Linked DNA regions of Homo sapiens: region 2 is linked to region 1. The links are contacts of gene promoters, found by promoter capture Hi-C in blood cells and fetal thymus (Javierre and others, 2016). All regions are on one chromosome and are shown on one strand. The core of a region is centred on a gene start or on the middle of the fragment in contact, and the rest is flanking DNA. Distances in the headings are between cores, read along the strand shown.

Region 1 (5,834 bases), core at 2,203-4,702:
TGGTTTTCAGTGATAGCTCTGAATCCCCTTTAGGCATAGAGTGTGGGAAATTATATTTCTGCAGCAAACTCAGGCTCTGCAACATCAAGTGTGGATTCACTGGAAATTATTTGAAGTAACACTTAGAGATCATAGTAGCCAAAAAATGTTGGGAAATTAAAAAGGGGTTTTTAAAAATTAATTATCGTTATTATTATTTTTTTCAAAGAGACAGGGTCTTCACTCCATCACCCAGGATGGAGTTCAGTGGCGGAATTACAGCTCACTGAAGCCTCAAACTCCTGGGTGCAACCAATCCTCCTGCCTCAGCCTCCCAAGTAGCTTGGACTACAGGCATGCACCAACTGTGCCAGGCTAATTTTTTAATATTTTGTAGGGATAGGGTCTTGCTATGTTGCCCAGGCTGATCTCAAACTCCTGACCTCAAGCAATCCACGCACCTCAGCCTCCCATAGTGCTGGGATTACAGGAGTGAGCTCCCACACCCAGCTGAAAAAGGTTTTTGTGGAGGGAGTATGATCAGGAGAAAAATCATGGAATGTGCTCGAAAGAGATCTAAAGGGCCATGGAAGTCAAAAGGTTGAACTCCATAGAACAAAACATGAAGTATGGAAAGATTCTTTAAAAAACACTTGACTTTGGAACAAAATCCAAATTGTTCCCATGATTTCATTCTTTGACATTATGTTCATTTTGGTTATCTTAGTCTTTTCTCAGAATTCCTCTTTAACAGAGAATTATCTAAAAGCCCCTGGCTAAGTTAATGCTTATGACTATGGTCACAAATGGATGGCTTGGATTTTATTTGTTTTGCAGTGTTTGTAAATTTTTTTATGTATACTGTTGTTGTCAACTAACATAATCCGTATGTATATGGGTTATATATATATATATATATATTCCCCAAATTTAAAAACCAGTTTGGAGATTTTTCCCACACACAGAAAATCAGAAAATTGGCAATACTCTGCCCCATTACCACATGGCAACAATGTAGACAGGCCATGAGTTCTCCACATGGCCCTAATCCCCACCACTCTTAAACAAATCTAATCAGTTTTATGTATATTATATATGTATATTGCTGTGCTTCTCCTTCCTGCCTGACCCTGCAAGACCCCTGTCTCAGTCTCTCTCAACATGTCTGAAGGACTCGAGGGCAGGTGTCAAAGGTGAAGGCCCTCATCTGGATTTAATGTCCTGGACCTTGAAACAGCAGCTAGTGTTTTGAGCTCTAAGCTAACACTTTGGACTTTCTTTTTTTTTTCGAGATGGAGTCTTGCTCTGTCGCCCAGGCTGGAGTGCAGTGGCACCATCTCGGCTCACTGCAAGCTCCACCTCTCGGGTTCACGCCATTCTCCTGCCTCAGCCTCCTGAGTAGCTGGGACTACAGGCGCCCTCCACCACGCCTGGCTAATTTTTTGTATTTTTAGCAGAGATGGGGTTTCACCGTGTTAGCCAGGATGGTCTCGATCTCCTGACCTCGTGATCCGTCCGCCTTGGCCTCCCAAAGTGCTGGGATTACAGGCATGAACCACCGCGCCTGGCCACATTTTGGACTTTCAGTCATGTTTTCTTTCCCCAATGAAATAGAAAAGTTTTATTTCAAAGAGGAAAAGGGTGCAACAGCTGCAACATACATAAAACCTATTTAGTTTTACTTGGGAGTGGGAATCAGGAAACCTGGGTTCTGTTTTTGACTTAGTTTGGATAAAGAAGGGTAGTTAAGCTGTCCTTATGTCTCTTACCAAATGGAGAAAATACTGCTGTAGTTCACAGCAATTTGGGGAGTTTTAGATTCTATGGAAAATGGAAATCCTATTTGTAACTTAGATTTTTTCTTTGGAGAAGGAGTCTCGCTCTGTTGCCCAGGCTGGAGTGCAGTGGCACGATCTCGGCTCACTGCAACCTCCACCTTCCAGGTTCAAGCGATTCACTGACTCAGCCTCCTCAGTAGCTGGGATTACAGGCACGCGCCACCATGCCCAGCTAATGTTTGTATTTTTAGTAGAGACCAGGTTTTGCCATTTTGGCCAGGCTGGTCTCAAACTCCTGACCTCAAGTGATCTGCCCACCTTGGCCTCCCAAAGTGCTGGGATTACAGGCGTGAGCTACCGCTCCCGGTCTAATTTTTAAATTTTTGTTTTGTAGAGATGAGGGTCTCCCTTTGTTGCTCAAGCTGGTCTCTGTCTCTTGGGATCAAGGGATCCTCCTGCCTCAGCCTCCCAAAGTGCTGGGATTACAGGCCTGGGCCACTGCAACCTGGCCTTCATCACAAATTCATTGAACACACTTTCTTTATTTTATCCTTTTTTATTTTTAAAAATTTTTATTTCAGTAGTTTTGGAGGAACAGGTTGCATGGAAAAGTTCTTTAGTGGTCATTTCTGAGATTTTGGTGCACCCATCACCCGAGCAGTGTACACTGTACCATGTGGCACACACTTTCACTTAAAGCATTTACTAGACCTCGCTAGCCAGATTTCCCATCCCTGAGACACCTGGAATGTTCCTGAGGACTTAGTGACTACTGCCTAAAGCTCCACCCAAGTCAATTTTATGTTTACAGGCAACCGGAGCATCCAATCACCTTTCTCTAAGAGAGTACAAAGATCAGCTCGCGAGAAAGTTCAGACGTCTCATTTCGTTTCTATTACACGGGGCCTTCGCCCAACCAGACGGAGTCTTGCTCTGCTGCCCAGGCTGGAGTGCAGTAGCGCGATCTCGGCTCATTGCAACCTTCGCTCCCCGGGTTTAAGCAATTCTCCTGCCTCAGCCACTGGAGTAGCTAGGATTACAGGCGCACGCCACCACGCCAAGCTAATTTTTTGTATTCTTAATAGAGACGGGGGTTTCACCATGTTGGCCAGGCTGGTCTCGAACTCCTGACCTCATCATTTGCCCGCCTCGGCCTCCCAAAGCGCTGGGATTACAGGCGTGAGCCACCGTGCCCAGCCTCGCCGGGGCCTTTTAAGTGACGTTAAAAATTGTACATAAAATATGTTTTAGGATAATACTTGTTTTTCTTTGACCAAAGGCTTGGCTTCAGAGAATGTTTAGCCAGAAATAGAGGGGCGTTAAATCCCCTTTTTTCTAATTTCCAATCTGAGGAGGAAAATAACGTAGTAAAGGGACGCAAGAGCAACCTTGCTTCTTCCACAACAAGGCCCAGGCGCCGCCTTGCAACCCGGAAATGCAGGGTGCAGTGCGGGGGGTAAGGGACCGGCCAACTATGTTGACCCGACTCAGAGAAACCCCGCCCTTGCCGCCACCGCCCACCCATAACGTCCTCCTCGACCCTCCCTCGACCATCCCTCGCCCCGCGGCCCTCACCGAAAAGGGGAGGGCGGTGGAAGAGAGAGGAGTCAAGGGAGCGCACGCGAAGCCCCGCCCCTGCCGTGACGTCTGGAGACGCGACGCGTCGCCTCGCAATGCAAATCGGGAAAAGGGGGTGAGCTGGGCTGGCTTCCGTCCTGGTAGCCAAGGCTAATTCTCCCTCGAGTTCTTGGGAGATGGGCATTTGGCGAGAAGGCTGGCGTTAGTGAAGCGCGCCCGGCGTCACGGTGAGTGCGGGTCTTGGGCCCTAGCACCTGTTCTCTGGGAAGTCGTCCGCTGTGAACGATGAACGCCTTTCCTTCCACCAGCTGCTGGTTACCCCGGAGACAAGCTCTGTCCGCGGAGAGGAGTGGGACAACTCCTAAAGGTAGAATCAGCTTGTGGAGAGGAAAGGCCCAACCTTGAGTCTTTTACGCCATCTACCTAGGATTGCCAAGCGAGTTTCGTGTGTTTTTTTGGTTTTAAAAGGTGGCTTTGACCAATCTTCCGTTCTCTTGGACACTTATACCCGACTTTGACCTCTTTCCTCTTGCTTCCGGTTTTTTTTTTTTTCTGCAATCTGCCTACAATCCCAGGCCTTACTGTAGCTCCTAAAACTGTTTCCCAGTTTCTCTTCTTCCCCAGTCACACTTGATTTTAGTGAAGTTTGAGTTTAAAGACCCTATAAGCTTGTCAGAGTTAAAACTATGACTTCCTCAAATAGAAGATTTTTTTTTTTTCCCCTAAAAAGTGCCTTCCATCCTAGAGTTGTGGGACAAGTTAATTTCACCGCCACTCCACCTTGGAAATTATCAGAATCCTTACTAGCAGTGATGTGCATTATAAAGCTGCAGACCACCCTCCTGGGTTTATTTCTTGCCTCCAGTTCATTCTGTGACCTTGAACAAGTCACTTAATCACTAACAAAAAATTTACCTGACACGGAGGTGTTGCAGAGCCTAAGGAATTTAGTATTTGTTAAGAGACCTGAGGGTTTCAGATGAAAGGGATTTATATCTAAAGGATGTTACCTTTTCTGAATCTGCAAAGCATCGTTAGTTTTGTAAATATCTTGCTGCAGCCATTAAAAATGCCAAGTGGTATTTGTTAAGGAAGTATTCCTGTTTTAGGCTTGCTCTGCTGCGGCTTTGCTATGTAAGCAGATTTTTGCATTTCAGCCGATTCTGTTTAAGATTCGTTGGTGAATGTCATTCATGATGGATTTGGGTAGTTTCTCCTTACAGCATATCCCTGGACTATTAAGCATATCTGGAAGGTGATATCGGTTGTGTTATGTCTTTATCATGTTGATATGGCTGCTTTGAAATATGTATTCCTTTTCTTGTGACACATTGGATGCATCTTTAATATTAGTGAAGACCCTGTAGTAGTTTAAAAAAAAAATACACCTCTCATTAATGAAATTTTGCACATAGACATCTGTTTTTTTAAGAAAACAATGTATAAGAAAAACTAACAAAAATGTTTTAAAGGTGCCTTTTTTAGCATTTCGTTTTTTAATATATTTACTTGGACTTTAATCTTTATGGGCATTTGTTTATTAATGTGGACGTGGCTGGGCGCAGTGGCTCACATCTGTAATCCTAGCACTTTGGGAGGCGGAGGTGGGCGGATCACTGAGGTCAGGAGTTCGAGATCAGCCTGGCCAACATGGCGAAACCCGGTCTCTACTAAAAATACAAAATTAGCTGGGCGTGGTGGTGCACGCCTGTAGTCCCAGCTACTCTGGAGGCTGAGGCAGGAGAATCGCTTGAACCTGGAAAGCGAAGGTTGCAGTGAGCCGAGATTGCGTCATTGCACTCCAGCCTGGGTGACAAGAGCAAAACTCCGTCTCAAAAAATAAAAAATAAAAAGCGTGGACATAATGGAAAATAATCAAAATGACTTTTGGGTAAGACAGTTGGAAAATAAAGCCAGTACATTAAATTTTTTTCATAAGTCTAGCACTATATTACGAACTTTTCTCCATGAAAATGCACTCATATTTATGGAAGTGAAAGGAAAAAAATGTCTTCAGGTATGTGTTGCTAATAAAATTAGATATAATTAAGGAAACATTTAAAAAATACCTTGTTGTTGTCCCAGTTACCTATTGCTGCATAACAAATCACTCCAAAACATAGTGACTTAAAACTGTAATTTAGTATCTCTCCTGTTTCTCTGGCCTGCCTGGACTTAGCTAAGTGGTTTTCACCTAGAGTTTAATGCGTTTGTATTCAGATAAGCAGCTGAGTTTGGAGTCAACCGAGAGCTCAGCTGGTCTGGACATCCAAAATGGCTAATTCACGTGAAGGCGTTTGATGTTGGCTAGGAGTTCAGCTGGAAATGTCAACTGGAATGCCCACACATAGCCTCTTCACGTGACTTGAACAGTATGGCGGCTAGGTTCCGAGAATACATGTTTGAGGAGTCAGGAAGTAGAAGCTGCCAGTCTCCCAAAAAGCCTGAGCCCAGAAATTCGCACAACATTACTTCCAACATACTCTGTTGGTTAGAGCA
Region 2 (5,959 bases), core at 592-3,091, 500 kb after region 1:
TAGGTCTCTCGTCTTATGTTAGTACCACCACTTGAGGCCAGGCCTGTGAACTCCTGGGCCTATTCAGAGTTTTTTTTTTTTTTTTCCTCACTTCATTTACCTATTCTCCCCCAGAATTAATATCAGTTAACACGCAATGGCAATACACTGTGACGTGGCTTGCATTCACCACAGTATTAATACTAACAGTAAATCTGTTATTAATCTGCCTTTCTTTTCTTTTCTTTTTTTTTTTGTGAAGAGTTTTCCGTTATGGCATAGCTTGCCTAGGAAGATAAGAGTTGTTTATTAATGGAATTTGTATGACCACTTATTAAGAATCTTATAAAAGGAGTTCTTGAGTGGAACACAAAGGATTGCACTGAATAGTCTCAGTCTTGAGATTCTACGACAGAAATATCTGTTAAGGAACCCTAAAAGTAAATACTTCACTTTTGTGATGTTTGCTGCTGTTCTGAGCACTGCCAGCATAGTCTGCAAATAACAGATATGTAGAAATAGACAAGAGAGAGAATTTCTAACAAGGAAGAAGCTTCCTTGGAAACTACATCATGAACATAGGATGGCATTTCTTTATTTTTGCTTCTGTGTGCTAGATGTTATCTGCTACAGATGAAGTGCAAAACTAGTATATACTTTTCTCTTTATTATCATGAGGTTTTGAAACAGATGAACTGGGCAAAGAGAGGAATAACATCTTTTTATTCCATGTGTGTCCTTGTATTCCTCCCCTCTGTCCCCCAGAATATTTGGAGTCTGCTATCCAGTGATATATATATATAAAAAAGAAACATAGAAAGCTACTATTTTAGGGTGAGAATGTTAACGAGTTTTTTTTCTTTTCTTTCCTTTTTAATTTGAGACTGAGTCTTACTCTGTCACCAGGTTGGAGTGCAGTGGCACAACCTTGGCTCACTGCAACTTCTGCCTCCCAGGTTCAAGCGATTCTTGTGCCTCAGCCACCCAAGTAACTGGAACTACAGGTGTGCACCACCACACCTGGCTAATTTTTGTATTTTTAGTAGAGACAGGGTTTCGCCATGTTGGCCAGGCTGGTTTTGAACTCCTGGCCTCAAGTGATCCACCCACCTCAGCCTCCCAAAGTGCTGGGATTACAGGCCAAAGATTTTTAATATTAATAAAAAGATTTTAATATTACTAGCTGAAATTACCTATTACTTAAACTTACTGTTGACTTTTTTTTTCAATTTTTAGAGATACGTCTTTTAAAAATGGAATTAGAGAATTAAGAAATTTGTTTTTCATGTTTTTTTTTTTTTAATCTCAAAAGTAATATATGCTTGTTACAAAAAAAAATTCCCTAACTAGATAAATATATAACACGGGCAGTTAAAGTTTTGAGACCTTACTTCCTAGAGGTAACCACTTTTTATAATTTGGTATATTAGAATAAATAAATTAATCACAAATGTATAGTTATCTCTTTCTTTGTAAATTAAGGTAATGAGCCAGTATTTTGAAATCATCTGGCCTATAATCTTTCAAAGTAAATACTTGAGAATTCAGATTGTCTTGTTTAAATTTCATTTTTTGTCTTCAGGGAGATTGTACGAAGAAAAGCTGTTCTGGCATTATACAAATTCCATCTCATTGCTCCTAATCAAGTACAACATATTCATATTAAGTTTCGGAAAGCACTTTGTGACAGAGATGTTGGGGTCATGGCTGCCTCCTTGCATATATATCTTAGAATGATTAAGGTAAGTTGGAAATTTTAGCAAGTACTGAGTAGTTACCATTAGAAAAATACAATTATGGAATTAAAAAGAAACAGATATTTTGGTAAAATGCTTAGTTAACATTTTATAATTTTATTATTGACCTTTGAATTAGTAGTTTTGCAAGTTGTTGAGAGCATGAGTTGTAGGCACATTACAGAATTAGTTTTTTTTTTTTTAATGCCTAAAATTTTTTGATGTTACTAAACAGGTGTGGAAAAATGGTATCAGTGGAAGGTGTCTTAAGTTTGCAGATTTGTGTTTTTTCAAGCAGTAATTCTCTTTTATATAACTTCATGGGATGCATAACATTTTATAGAAATGAGGAAAACCAGCGGGGGTTGTGCAAGCTATAGATTGTAGTATTGACTCCATGTATTAATTCTGTATCATATGAGGAAAGAGGGTTGAATGTTATGGTAAAACACTTTTCTAAATGGCGATGGTGGATTTATACTAATTCATCCTTAGTGTATTGCCTGAAACCATTTGTGTTCAAATATACATATTTGTAACAGATTTCATGGCACCTACTATAACAAAATAAAATATGCTATTGAACTCATTTAAAGTTATATTGTTTTTTATGTATCGTGTTCTAAAATAGTACAGTTTAAATAAATGTTCAATATTAAATTTTATTTTTTCCTTAACATTTACTAAAATTTGAAAGAGCTTTATTTCCCTTCCAAAAAATTTTCCCTTGATACATAATAAAAATTAGAATAAAGAATCTAATGTTCCTTTTAAGGAGTGTGGATATAATTTCCCCAGTCCAAGAGATTACTCAGATACATAATCAAGGCACACTCCTTCAGAAACAAATATTTTTAGATACTGTGTGGCTAATTAATTTTTAATTGGCAGGCACACTGATTTTGGGGACTTTTTTTTTTTTGAGATTGAGTTTCGCTTTTGTTGCCCAGGCTGGAGTGCAATGGCATGATCTCAGCTCACCACAACCTCCCCGTCCCAGGTTCAAGCGATTCTCCTGCCTCAGCCTCTCGAGTAGCTGGGATTACAGGCATGTGCCACCACACCCGGCTTATTTGGTATTTTTAGTAGAACCAGGGTTTCACCATGTTGGTCAGGCTGGTCTCGAACTCCCAACCTCAGGTGATCCGCCCGCCTCATCCTCCCAAAGTGTTGGGATTACTGGCGTGAGCCACTGTGCCCGGCCCCAGAATGAATTTAACTCATTTACATGGGAAGTCTTTTGGAAACAGAGTTCAGAGATTGCAAATAGGCCTTGATTTTCATCCAAAGCCGAGGTATTACTGTCCTTTTGCAGTATGCCAGTTCTTTTCACTTTTTGTTTTAATTACTGGTATTGGCTATTAAGGATTCTACCTAAGATATAAGAATTTTGAAATGTGATTAAACTGTATACGGGGAAAAGTAGGGAGTGATGGAAGCTTTTCTGGGATGATTCAGCTTTGGGTTGGTTAGCCAGAGGAATTTTATCATGGAAGATATTATACATATTAGAGCACTGTTTCATTAAATGTGAACATAAACTTAAGTATGTATTAAGTCAGGTTCTATATGACATTTCAATTAGGTCTATTTCTATTTAATAAGACGTTATTAACAAAGTTTTTTTTGCGGGGGGATGTAGGAGAATTCATCTGGATATAAAGACTTGACTGGGAGTTTTGTAACCATTTTGAAGCAAGTAGTTGGAGGAAAGCTCCCAGTAGAATTCAATTACCACAGTGTGCCAGCACCATGGTTACAAATTCAGCTCTTGAGAATACTGGGACTTCTAGGAAAAGATGATCAAAGGTAAACTATTTTCAGTAAGTTTGCTTAATGACCCCCATACCAGATGATAAGCTTAGACTTTAGTAACCTAGAGGTTTAATGATAAACCAGATTCTTCCAATGTTTAATTGGCTTAATAGTGATAAAAGAAGCCATTGTAAGAATCACATAAATGCTTTCAGGTTGCTGGGATAATCCTGGCTCTCTCCTTATCTTAATTTTACCCATCATGAAAGGTACCCATGAAACACCATCTCCTCTGTGATGCTTTCGTAATTGTTCTAGTTCAGGGGTTGGGAAACTTTCTGCAAAGGGCCAGATAATAAATATTTTAGGTGGCCGGGCATGGTGGCTCACGCCTGTAATCCCAGCACTTGGGAGGCTGAGGTGGCGGATCACAAGGTCAGGAGTTTGAGACCAGCCTGACCAACATTGTGAAACCCCGTCTCTACTAAAAATACAAAAATTAGTTGGGCACAGTGGCGCGCGCCTGTAATCCTAGCTACTCGGGAGGCTGAGGTAGGAGAATCACTTGAACCCAGGAGGTGTAGGTTGCAGTGAGCCGAGATTGTGCCACTGCACTCCAGCCTGGGTGACAAAGCGAGACTCTGTCTCAAAAAATAATAATAATAAATAAATAAATAAATATTTTAGGCTTTGTGGGCCATATGTTGTTTTTTGCATCTATTCGACTCTGCTATTACAGCATGAAAGCAGCCACAGATAGAACATAAATAAACATTATGGACATTAAAACTTGAATCTCAAATCGGCACATCATGAAGTATTATTCTTTTAATTTTTTTTCCAACTATTTCAAACTGTAAAATCTCTTCTTAGCTTGAAGCCATACAAAACCAGGCATTTGGCCAGATTAGGCCTGCGGGCTATAGTTTGCCAACCCTTGCTCTGGTTGGGTGTGAGTGCTTCACCTTTTTAATTCATTTATCTGAATTATTCTTTTAGCCAATAACTTAAACTTCTCATGTGTATCTTTCCAACTATATATATATATACTTTCAATTTTGCCATTTTTTTTTTGTTTTTGAGACTAAGTCTTGCTGTGTTGCCCAGGCTGGAGTGTAGTGGCGCGATCTCAGCTCACTGCAACCTCCACCTCCCGGATTCAAGAGATTTTCCCACCTCAGTTTCCCAAGTAGCTGGGATTACAGGCGCACACCACCATGCCCGGCTAATTTTTGTATTTTTAGTAGAAATGGATTTCACCATGTTGGCCAGGCTGGTCTCGAGCTCCTGACCTCAGATGATCTCCCTGCCTCAGCCTCCTAAAGTGCTGGGATGACAGGCGTGAGCCACCGCCCCGGCCTCAATTTTGCCCTACTTTTTCAAACTTAGACACTTTCAAAGTTCTAAGGACAGTACAAGGAGTTCCCTTACATCCTGCACCTAGATTCATCAATTTATTTTCATTTGTTCTATCATTCTCATTCTCTGTGTGTGCATGTGTGTATGCATTTGCATGTGCACCTACATATTATTTTTATTTTAAAAACTATTTCCGAGTTGCTTGAGAGCAAGCCCCTTGAGATTTTAGTTCCCTTGAGAGCAAGGACCTTGGCTAGAGTTCCTGATATGTTTCTGTCTTAAGAAAATGTTTGCTAATCAGTGTTCTGATTTTATGAATATTGTTCCCTTTTATATAGTAGGGTACCTTTGTATTCTAATGTTTTAGCCTAGCTTTACAAAGGGACCATTCTCCAGGCTTTTGCTTCTAGAAATCAACTTAAGGTCAGAATCCATTTGCCTGTGAGCTCCTGACTAGCACTAATTGGGCTACATCACTGTTGGTATTATAGTGTTACTTTTTTCTGTGTTTATGAATCTCAACTACTGATTGAAACCTGCAGTGAAAACGTAAGGTGATGGAGCATGTACACACATTAGAAATGATTGTCTTAATTATATTTTATTTTATATCATGCCAGCCTATCCTAACGTGGAGCTCTAGTTGGAGTTACTGGAATTTATGTTTTAAAATCATGAATTTTATATTAATGCATCAGATCTTATTGGTCTAAAAAAGACTTACTGCCATCCATTGTTATCAGGAAGTAACTTGGGAGGCATTTAGTGAATTTATTAAATTCATTAACTCACTATCTTCCTTTTTCTTGCCTTCATGGATAAATTTGGATAATACATATATACAAAGATGAGTAAGCTAGTCCTTACCTTCACAGCACTCAGGTGACCAGTAATTAGGCTCAGTTATTAATAGAGTGGAACTTTCTTATAATGTTATGGAACATTAGAATGTTTTCTCCTTTTTTGTCTCAACTCTAATGAGATTTTATTTTAACATAAATCTTACATTTTGTTGGACATTATTGCTCAATGTAGCAAAGTAAAAAGTTATAACCGGATTCTAAAGTATTTAATTGAAAAAACCAATTTACTGGAAAAGTCTGTTGTATTTATGGTCTTTTATATCTATT

What was found. The method cuts DNA at HindIII sites, captures the fragments that hold promoters and counts their contacts. A CHiCAGO score of 5 or more calls a contact.
Region 2: a fragment that was not itself captured here is called in contact with the fragment with the promoter of USP8 in region 1 in 1 of 17 cell types (non-activated CD4 T cells); the score reaches 5.8 in non-activated CD4 T cells.

Annotation. Positions count from the first base shown.
Region 1 is chr15:50,420,953-50,426,786 of GRCh38, forward strand. It overlaps USP8 (ubiquitin specific peptidase 8), which reads left to right and starts at 3,453. Exons shown (of 20, transcript NM_005154.5): 1 at 3,453-3,562. RefSeq lists enhancers at 2,276-3,272, 3,311-3,700 and a silencer at 3,151-3,200. The HindIII fragment of the contact is 13,730 bases long and covers 1-4,001 here.
Region 2 is chr15:50,927,448-50,933,406 of GRCh38, forward strand. It overlaps AP4E1 (adaptor related protein complex 4 subunit epsilon 1), which reads left to right. Exons shown (of 21, transcript NM_007347.5): 6 at 1,562-1,721; 7 at 3,358-3,524. Among named protein-coding and RNA genes, the nearest start is that of AP4E1, 22 kb to the left of the region's middle. The HindIII fragment of the contact is 2,622 bases long and covers 531-3,152 here.